Linked DNA regions of Homo sapiens: region 1 is linked to region 2. Evidence: promoter capture Hi-C in 16 types of primary human blood cells and fetal thymus (Javierre and others, 2016). All regions are on one chromosome and are shown on one strand. The core of a region is centred on a gene start or on the middle of the fragment in contact, and the rest is flanking DNA. Distances in the headings are between cores, read along the strand shown.

Evidence for each region. The method cuts DNA at HindIII sites, captures the fragments that hold promoters and counts their contacts. A CHiCAGO score of 5 or more calls a contact.
Region 1: a fragment that was not itself captured here is called in contact with the fragment with the promoter of NR2C2AP in region 2 in 1 of 17 cell types (erythroblasts); the score reaches 5.1 in erythroblasts.

The regions. Positions count from the first base shown.
Region 1 is chr19:19,504,797-19,509,420 of GRCh38, forward strand. GATAD2A (GATA zinc finger domain containing 2A) reads left to right here. Exons shown (of 12, transcript NM_001384528.1): 12 at 548-4,136. The coding sequence ends at 678. Among named protein-coding and RNA genes, the nearest start is that of TSSK6, 8.4 kb to the right of the region's middle. RefSeq lists an enhancer at 197-697. The HindIII fragment of the contact is 3,777 bases long and covers 1-3,651 here.
Region 2 is chr19:19,200,603-19,205,007 of GRCh38, forward strand. NR2C2AP (nuclear receptor 2C2 associated protein) reads right to left here and starts at 2,812. Exons shown (of 5, transcript NM_176880.6): 1 at 2,421-2,812; 2 at 2,189-2,279; 3 at 1,868-1,973; 4 at 1,729-1,796; 5 at 807-1,439. The coding sequence starts at 2,458. The coding sequence ends at 1,323. It overlaps RFXANK (regulatory factor X associated ankyrin containing protein), which reads left to right. Exons shown (of 10, transcript NM_003721.4): 10 at 1,047-1,264. The coding sequence ends at 1,117. RefSeq lists a silencer at 1,788-2,054 and an enhancer at 2,718-3,012. The HindIII fragment of the contact is 11,500 bases long and covers 1,681-4,405 here.

The DNA.
Region 1 (4,624 bases), core at 513-3,012, 300 kb after region 2:
TGCCACCATGTCCAGCTGATATTTTTTTTAGAGATGGGGCCTCACTATGTTGCCCAGGCTGGTCTCTATCTCCTGGCCTCAAGCAGTCTTCCCACCCCCCAGCCTCTCAAAGTGCTGGGATTCTAGGCTGAGCCTCCGTGCCCAGCTAAGATAGTTTTTCATTGCTGCATAGTATTCCATCCTGCATTATTGTCCTGTTGCACACATTTGTTTATGGTTTTCCACTGTTCTAAGCAGCACCGTGGTCAGCACCTTCATTTCTGTAGAACGTAGGTAGCTGCTCACCCTCTGATGATTGCCCCACACTTGGGATTACCTTGGCAGAGCCTGGCAATGTCAAGGCCATTGAGTTGCTGCCTAAATACTCTTCAGCTCTGGGGGGGCCTGGGATTTGAAACGTTGATTGAGGAGTAGTGTGGGTGGGTTTGCAAGGGCTCCTGGGTCCTTAGTCTGTATTGGGGCTGGGGTCTAGGCAGCTATGGCTGGGCTCCTCCCAGGAGCCCTCCTGACGAGGGCCTTCTCAGCTGGTCGCTCTGTTCTGTTGCAGGCGGGACCCTTGCGTTTGTCAGCCCAAGCCTGGCGGTGCACAAGAGCTCCTCGGCCGTGGACCGCCAGCGAGAGTACCTCCTGGACATGATCCCACCCCGCTCCATCCCCCAGTCAGCCACGTGGAAATAGTGCGAGCCAGGCCCCGTGGAAGACGGGCTCCCTCCTCCCCCACCTGGCCCCTGGTCTAGAAGGACCCACTGCACCACCCTCCGCTGGCTCGGGAAGACACCGTGCCCGCCCCAAGAGCAAGCACCGGCCATGCTGCAGAGGCAAGACCTCAATTCTTGGCTGCAAAGTTTCATCAGGGCTAGGGGGCTGGTGCCGCCTCATAGGCAGACGAGGATCATCGCTGGGGGACCTTTCCCGTGGGCTTTCTTCCTTTCTCTCTTTGCCTTTAGTTTGCCCGACACCAGCAGAAAAGTGGACCTTGGGGGCTGGTTCTGCTCCTGGCCCCCTTGTTCAGCCCCTGCCGGCACACGGGCGGCTCACCCTGGACACTGTGATGCGCATGGGCAAGGCCAGCGCCCGGGGCTTCTGAACCGAGCGGGGTGTTTCATTTTTTTGCTTTTCCCTGTCTTAGGCTCCCAGTCTTTGACTGCCTTCCCATGGCGATCTATAAGTTGAAAGATTTTTTTTTTTTTTAATCACCTCATGATGATGGAGTTAAAAGTAAACCGTGCAGACCCTGGGGTCCCTGTTGTACGCTGCATCATCCCGCTGGCCCTGTGCCCTGGAGGGTGGGCGGCTCATGGTGCCACAGCCCCTGGCAGGGACGGCCGGCCCGCCCCCGTGACTGACTGACAGATGCAGGGATGGCCGAGGCAGCCCTCGCTCCAGCTGAACGCCTCCATTGCTGCTTGTTCTGGAGACCCCCGCCCCCGCACCTTCCAGACTTAGCAGAAGAACAAACTGAAGAACAGACCCAGCCAGAGAAGCAGGGATTCCAGAAGCTGCCCATTAAGGGAGAAGGAGAGGATCCGGTCGGCAGCAGCCCTGAGCAGAAAGCTGGAGGGGGGACTGTCGCGGGGTTTTTCTGTTGTGGTTTATTTTATTAAATTTTTTCCTTTTTTCTATTCATTTCGATGGACGCAATCTTAAGCCACCCTGGCCTTGCTCCTGGGAGGTGAGCGTGCACAGGTGTGTGCAGGTCAGGAGGTGCCGTCCAGGTGTGCGGCGAGCCGCTGCGCACAGATGTCAGGATTTCCGTTTGGGTCTAGTTTAGAACCTGTCCTTAAACCTAGGGGTTGCTGTCAGGATTTGCTTTCAGACTTTTTTTTTTTTTGTAATTCCCTTTAGAGTCTACAAAAATGTTTTTAAAAGGATCAGGTCTGCTTTTAGTTTCATTTTTGTTTCTTTCCCGTCCCACTCTTTAAAAACTGGTTCCGTGAGGAAAGGCAGAAGCCGTTCCGTGTCTCTTGCAGGCTGGGCCGGCTTCATGCCAGTGCGAGGGCGTCCCGTGCCCACGTACATACGTATGTCTCCATGAGTTCTGGGCTCCACTGGTTCCAATTGAGCTCCAGCCCTGGTTTTCCTACCCATGCAGTTAGGGACTTTAATTTAATTTTTTTTTTGTAGGGCCACCGCCTTCAAACACAACTGCTACAACATTCTAATAAAGGCTCATTTAACCCCCAGGCTCCTGTCGTGTGAATATCCTCAGTCTGTAGGAAACTTTTTTTGACACAGCATAGAAGACCTAGTTTTGGAAAACATTATCTAATTTTTTGTTGTGCAAATCCCCAAATTTCTCACTAATTTTTGTTTTTTTGTGCATAACTTGGATGGGCTGAAGGAGGTGAGGACAGATTGGGGAAGGGTGGCTTTCATTCCAAGATCCAGGGATTTGGGGAAAAGGAAGGAATTTGATGTTTTTTGGGGTGGGAGGGGAGGGTGTGTTTTTTACACCAAAAAAAAAAAAAAAAATCAAGAGTATGCAAGCATTTCTATTCCTCGCATTTTTCTGTGTGCCTGGCAAATAAATACCTGTCTCCTACGACCCTGAGCTGTTAGCCCTCTCTGTTCCATGACAGGGGCCAGATCTTCCAGCTCCTCCCAGAAGGAGCACCCAGGCTGGCTTCTTCCCACTGAAAGCCCTCCCCAGCGAACCAACCTCAGTTCTATGCAGTGGCTGGGGATCAGGCATCCAGACCGAAGTCACCTCTGCCTGCTCCAGCTTGGGTCAGCTGGGTCTGACCAGGGGGCCAGATCCGAGCCGCACCTGCCGGCCCCCAGCCCCAGCTCCAGCTCCTGACCTCTCCCAGCCTGGCCTGGCTGTTCCTCCAGGGCTGATGGCTGTCAACCCATCCTTGTGAGTTCATATGGACTGCTGCCCCTCGAAAGGGAGAGGGTCGGCCCCATGTCCCCAGGGAGCATTCCATCAGGGACAACGTACATACTGTGATGTAAACTTTTTTTTTTTCCCCCCAGGGGGCAAAAGTGTGAGATGCCTTAATCTTTCCTTCATTTCTGCTGTCTCGAACACTCTAGCCCATTATTTCCTTTCAGTTCCTTGCAGCATAACCTCTACGATAAGCCCCAAGCGGGTTGTTGTATTATGACGTTTATGATGTTCCAGGTGAAGGCATTATTAAGTACCTCTCTGGGTGTGGGGTTTGGACGCACCAGGATAGCTATTGATTAATGTTAAGGGTGTTCTACCCACAGCAAAGCACACCCTCTTAAACCAGGCACTGCCTGGGTCCTGGTCCCGAGAGCCCTACCAGGATCAGGTTCCTGCAAGCCGTCAGAATGTGGGAGCCCCCAGCCCAACTGATTGTAACTGTCCCCTGTTACCTGTGACATGAACCTCCAACAGCACCTGGAAACGGTTCCCTCTGTCAGCTGCTCTGTAGACAGGGCTGGGGAGATCTCAGAGTTCACACCTCGCCTGTTGTAGGGGAGGTTGGGGGTAGGGTTTGGAATGGCCAAGTGCCCTTGGAACCTCCCACAGCTATGGCCGTCCTGACCTCATCCCAGGAACTCTACGGTGACCAGGAACCACCCCTCTGACGAGGTCTGTAGCGGCCCTTCTCAGAGTGGAACAGCCCACAGTGCTAGTTGTGCCTGGTCTTACCTGTACTCCACGGACCTCGGTGAAGCAAAAGCTTCAGGGCAGAGGGAATGAGGCAACCCAGTGGCAGCCCCGCTGGGCCCCGTGGCTCCTGCTCTCCTATTGGACGTAGAGGCAGGGGAGAGACTTCTCTATACAAATATTCTCATCACAGAAGGGATGATCCTTGCTGCTCTGCCGTAGGGTTTTTGATGCTGAGCTATGCTGCACATGACGTTAACCTAAAGAACTTGGACTGAGCTTTTAAAAAAGGACAGCAAACAATTTTATAATCCTTAAAGTGTAATAGACGGTTACACTAGTGCAGGGTATTGGGGAGGCTCTTTGGGTGTGGAGGCTGTCACTTGTATTTATTGTGACTCTAAATCTTTGATAGTAAAACAAATGTAAAAAGAAATGTTTGCCACCAGATGGGAATAGAAGTTCCAATAAGCAGGCTGGAATGGGTGGCTATACGTTGTATCACGAGGAAGTTTTAGACTCTGAAGGATAATAAATGGATGATGTGTCAACTGGACTTTTCTTTTGTCCCTTCTGCCCTGGCTTCTCTGTATTGTTTCGTCCTAGCTTCCCAGGCAGGTTGGAGGGAGATGGAGGATGACCCTTAGTTAATGAGAGAAGCAAAGGGCGGGGTGCATCTGCTGCTGGGGCCTCACTTACTGTGGGGATGGAGTCCCCACGGCCCCTCTCCTCTGGAGCTTTGTGGCAAACTTACCCCATGGGCTGGGAGAGAGGAATGAGAATCTCAGTGGGGGCTGGGTTTGGTGGCTCACATTTGTAATCCCAGCACTTTGAGAGGCTGAGGTGGGTGGATCACCTGAGGTCAGGAGTTCGATACCAGCCTGGCCAACATGGTGAAACCCCATCTCTACTAAAAATACAAAAATTGGCCGGATGTGGTGGTGGGTGCCTGTACCCCAGCTACTTGGGAGGCTGAGGCAGGAGAATCGCATGAACCCGGGAGGCAGAGGTTGCAGTGAGCCAAGATTGCGCCACTGCACTATA
Region 2 (4,405 bases), core at 1,562-4,061:
TACCCAGCTAATTTTTAAAATCTTTTTTATTTATTTTTTGAGACAGAGTCTCGCTCTGTCACCCAGGCTGGAGTGCAGTGGCACAATCTCGGCTCACTGCAACCTCTGCCTCCCAGGCAAACAATTCTCCTGCCTCAGCCTCCTGAATAGCTGGGATTACAAGTGCCTGCCACCACACCTGGCTAATTTTTTTTTTTTTTTTTTTTTTTTTTTGAGATGGAGTTTCGCTCTTGTTGCCCAGGCTGGAGTGCTATGGCGTGATCTCGGCTCACTGCAACTTCCGCCTCCCAGGTTCAAGCAATTCTCCTGCCTCAGCCTCCCAAGTAGCTGGGATTACAGGCATGCACCACCATGCCCAACTAATTTTTTGCATTTTTAGTAGAGTCAGGGTTTCTCCATGTTGGTCAGGTGATCTCAAACTCCCGACCTCAGGTGATCCACCCGCCTCAGCTTCCCAAAGTGCTGGGATTACAGGCATGAGCCACCACACCCGGCTGCACCTGGCTAATTTTTGTAGTTTTAGTAGAGATGGGGTTTCATCATGTTGGTCAGGCTGGCCTTTCCTGACTTCAAGTGATCCACCTACCTTGGCCTCCCAAAGTGCTAGGATTACAGGTGTGAGCCACCAAGCCCAGCCTAATTTTTAAATTTTTTTGGTAGAGACAGCGTTTTGCTCTGTTGCCCAAGCTGGCCTCAAATTCCTGAGCTCAAGCAGTCCTCCCCACTGGACCTCCCAAAGTGCTGGGATTATAGGTGTGAGCCACCATGCCCAGGCTCATCTTTTCATGAAAGTCACAATTCACACATTTTGCTTGGTAGGAAATATTTTTATATTAATTCTGAAAAGCTACAAAAGTGCATTTTTACAAACTTAGGGGAAGTTGAGGTTCCTGGGGTGAGTCCTCGGTTCTCCCAGCTTTGCTCTGTAATGCAGGTCTCTGCAAGGGTCCCTGTTTGTCCCCTAAGGGGAGAGCGCAGGTTGGCCTGTGCCTCCACCCCACTCCCGATTCAAGCTCACAGCCCACCTTTTCCCTGCCCCATCTCAGTGCAACAGGTGATCGAGAACCACATCCTCAAGCTCTTCCAGAGCAACCTGGTGCCCGCTGACCCTGAGTGAAGGCCGCCTGCCGGGGACTCAGACACTCAGGGAACAAAATGGTCAGCCAGAGCTGGGGAAACCCAGAACTGACTTCAAAGGCAGCTTCTGGACAGGTGGTGGGAGGGGACCCTTCCCAAGAGGAACCAATAAACCTTCTGTGCAGAATGAGGGACTTTGCTGTGCTTCCCGGAGGGCTTCCTGGAGGAGACAGCCCCTAGAGGTCTCACACCTTCTCCCCAAGCACCCGCAGGTGGTAGATGACCACACGGCCAAAAAAGTCAGTGGCATCCTCAAACGTCACCTTCAGCCGGTCCACTTCAGCAGCTGGTATGGGGAAAGTGTGAGCGTGGGCAGTCAAGGGAAACTGGTGATTTCTGGTTTCCCACCCGCAGGCCCCCACCCCTTCCAGACCCAGCTCACACTCCACCGATGTGGGCAACCTGGGGAAGCTGCAGGTCCCTCTAAGCCTCTCACACAGAACAGGTGGTCATCAGCACCATTTTACAGAAAAAGTGGAGTCCTAGAGGTCACGTGTTCAAGATCACACATCAGGGTTCCCATTCGGGTTTGGGTGAGTCCAAAGCTTCCAGAGGCACAGACCACCCACCCCAGAAGCAGGGGCAGGATATCTGAAGCGAGTTGTTGTCCTCAGGGTAGAAATCTACAATCTTGTGGAGAGCCTGAGTGCCCTGTGAACCTTCAGCAGAGAAAGGCAATGAGTGTCTGGGGTGACCCCTGGAACCCCTGCCACCCAGGGCCTTCTAGTACCTTCCAGGCAGCCCCGGCGACTGGAGAAGCCACCCTGAAACTGGATCTGCAGCTGGGAGACACGGATGAGCTGGGGAAACTCCAGCGTCACCCACTGGGAGGGGCCCTGGAAGCAGACAGGGAAACTGAGGCGCAAGCTCACTGCAGGCACAGAGCCCTGCTATGCCTGTCTCATTCACATAGTTCTTGGAATGGAGGGGAAGAAGGAAATTCGGCACATGTTCCTTTCCTGGCCACCCATGAGGGCCCCCTGACGTTCTCAAGGCATGAGATCTGAATCTGAATCACCCTAGAGATGGAGGGTCGAGGGAGGCGCCTCACCTGGTCTGAGTTCCAACATGTCTCCTCATCCTGGTCGAAAAGATGTTTTTTTCCAAACTGCCGAGTGTTGCGATTCAGCACTGAACTCACCCTGGAGGCACCAGGATCAAGGCGAAGAGAGGGGCTGAGACCAGCTCTCAGCTCCGCGGAGGGCCTGACCCCCAGATCTGTCCACTGAGGGCTCGACCCCAGGCTTAGGGCCTCGCCACTGCCTGTCCCCACAGACTCTTACCTGCTCACTGTCTCTGGACAAACCAAAGAGTGGGTCATGTCGGTTCCACAAGACCTCGCAGGGCTTAGGATTGGGCACAGCCTTGGTTCGAATCCCGGCGCCTCCTCAAGCTACAGGGCGGCGCGATCTTGGCTACGCCTTGGCCTGAACGTCCTCACCTGTAACTTGGGACGAGAACCGCCACTCCCTCGCCCACCCCAGTCCTAAATGTCGCCTCGATCAATCCCCTGCCGGAAAATTTGGGAGAGAGGATCAGGGAAACCGCCAATGCCCGGAGGCCAGGCCTTTCACAGGAAACAGATTTCCCGCGGGTTTCGGGGGCGGTGGCTTTTTGTGCGAGGCTGTTTCTCTGCGAATAGCTCTTGGAGCCAAATCTTGGGACCCGGAACCGCGTGGGCTTGGCGCATGCGTGTTGTAATTCAGGCGCCGACCGCGGACGCTCCAGAGGTGGGGTTTGGTTCGACCCCGCCCCTTCATGCTCGCTTCTTAAAGGGCCCGGGTTCGATGATTGAATTTACCTTGGTTCCCTTGAAGCTGTAGGGAAAAGGCTGGCTGCGCGCACGGGGCGCTGTCCCTCGGCGCCCGAAGGTGTAGAGCACTGATTTTGACTGATTTTGGAATCCGAAAGACTTCCTTTTTTTTTTTTTTTTTTTGAGGCGGAGTCTCACTGTCGCCCAGGCTGGAGTGCAGTGGCACGATCTCCGCTCACTGCAAGCTCCGCCCCCTGGGTTCACGCCGTTCTCCTGCCTCAGCCTCCCAAGTAGCTGGGAATACAGGCGCCCGCCACCACGCCCGGCTAATTTTTCGTATATTTAGTAGAGACGGGGTTTCACCGTGTTAGCCAGAATGGTCTTGATCTCCTGACCTCGTGATCCAGCCGCCGGGGCTTCCAAAGTGCTGGGATTACAGGCTTGAGCCACCGCGCCCGGCCTTTTTTTTTTTTTTTTTTTGAAGTGGGGTCTCACTGTCACCCAGGCTGGAGTACAATGGTGGGATCGCGGCTCTCTGCGACCTCTGCCTCCCAGGCTCCAGCAATCCTCCTACCCAGCTTCCCGAATAGTTGGAACTAGTAGGCGCGCGCCACCACGGCAGGCTATTTTGTTTGTTTGTTTGTTTGTTTGTTTTTTGGTAGAGATGAGGTTTCGCCATGTTGCCCAGATTGGTCTCGAACTCCTGGGCTCAAGTGATCCGCCCACCTCAGCCTCCCAAAGTGCTGGGATTACAGGCGTAAGCCACCGCGCCCGGCCAGAGAGACTTCCTATGACAATGTCTTTCTTCCTACTCTAACCTACTCTACCCTAACGGCTACCCTAACCTACTCTAACCTACTCTACCCTAACCACTAAATGCAGCCTGGGAATCCCCGAACTTCACTGCCTCCCGGAGGCCAAAGGCAGAGTTGTGGAAAAGGCCACGATGTTGGGAGTATCTGAAGTCCTCATCAACCCTTTTTGTTCTTGTTGGGACAGAGGAGCCCTGGCCTCCAAGTTTGTCTTTCCCAGAAAATGCTGCTGGGACGTCAAGGAAGGCTTCTTGGAGGAGGGAGCATGCGAGGTCGGGTGTTTTTTGTTGTTTCTGTTTTGTTTTGTTTCGAGACGGAGCCTCACTTTGTTGCCCAGGCTGGAGTGCAGTGGTGTGATCTCAGCTCACTGCAACCTCCGCCTCCCAGGTTCAAGTGATTCCCCTGCCTCAGCCTCCTGAGTAGCTGTGACTACAGGTGCGCACCACTATGCCTGGCTAATTTTTGTATTTTTAGTAGAGATGGGGTTTCGCTATCTTGGCCAGGCTGGTCTCGAACTCCTAACCTCGTGATCTGCCCGCCTTGGCCTCCCAAAGTGCTGGGATTACAGGTGTGAGCCACCGCACCCAGGCTGTGAGGTGGGTTTTGAAGCATGAACAGGAGTTTGCCAAACAAAGCCTCAGATACCAAGCTGAAGATTTGGTTCACTGATTCACTAGACACCTCCTGCAAGCTCTACTGTCAC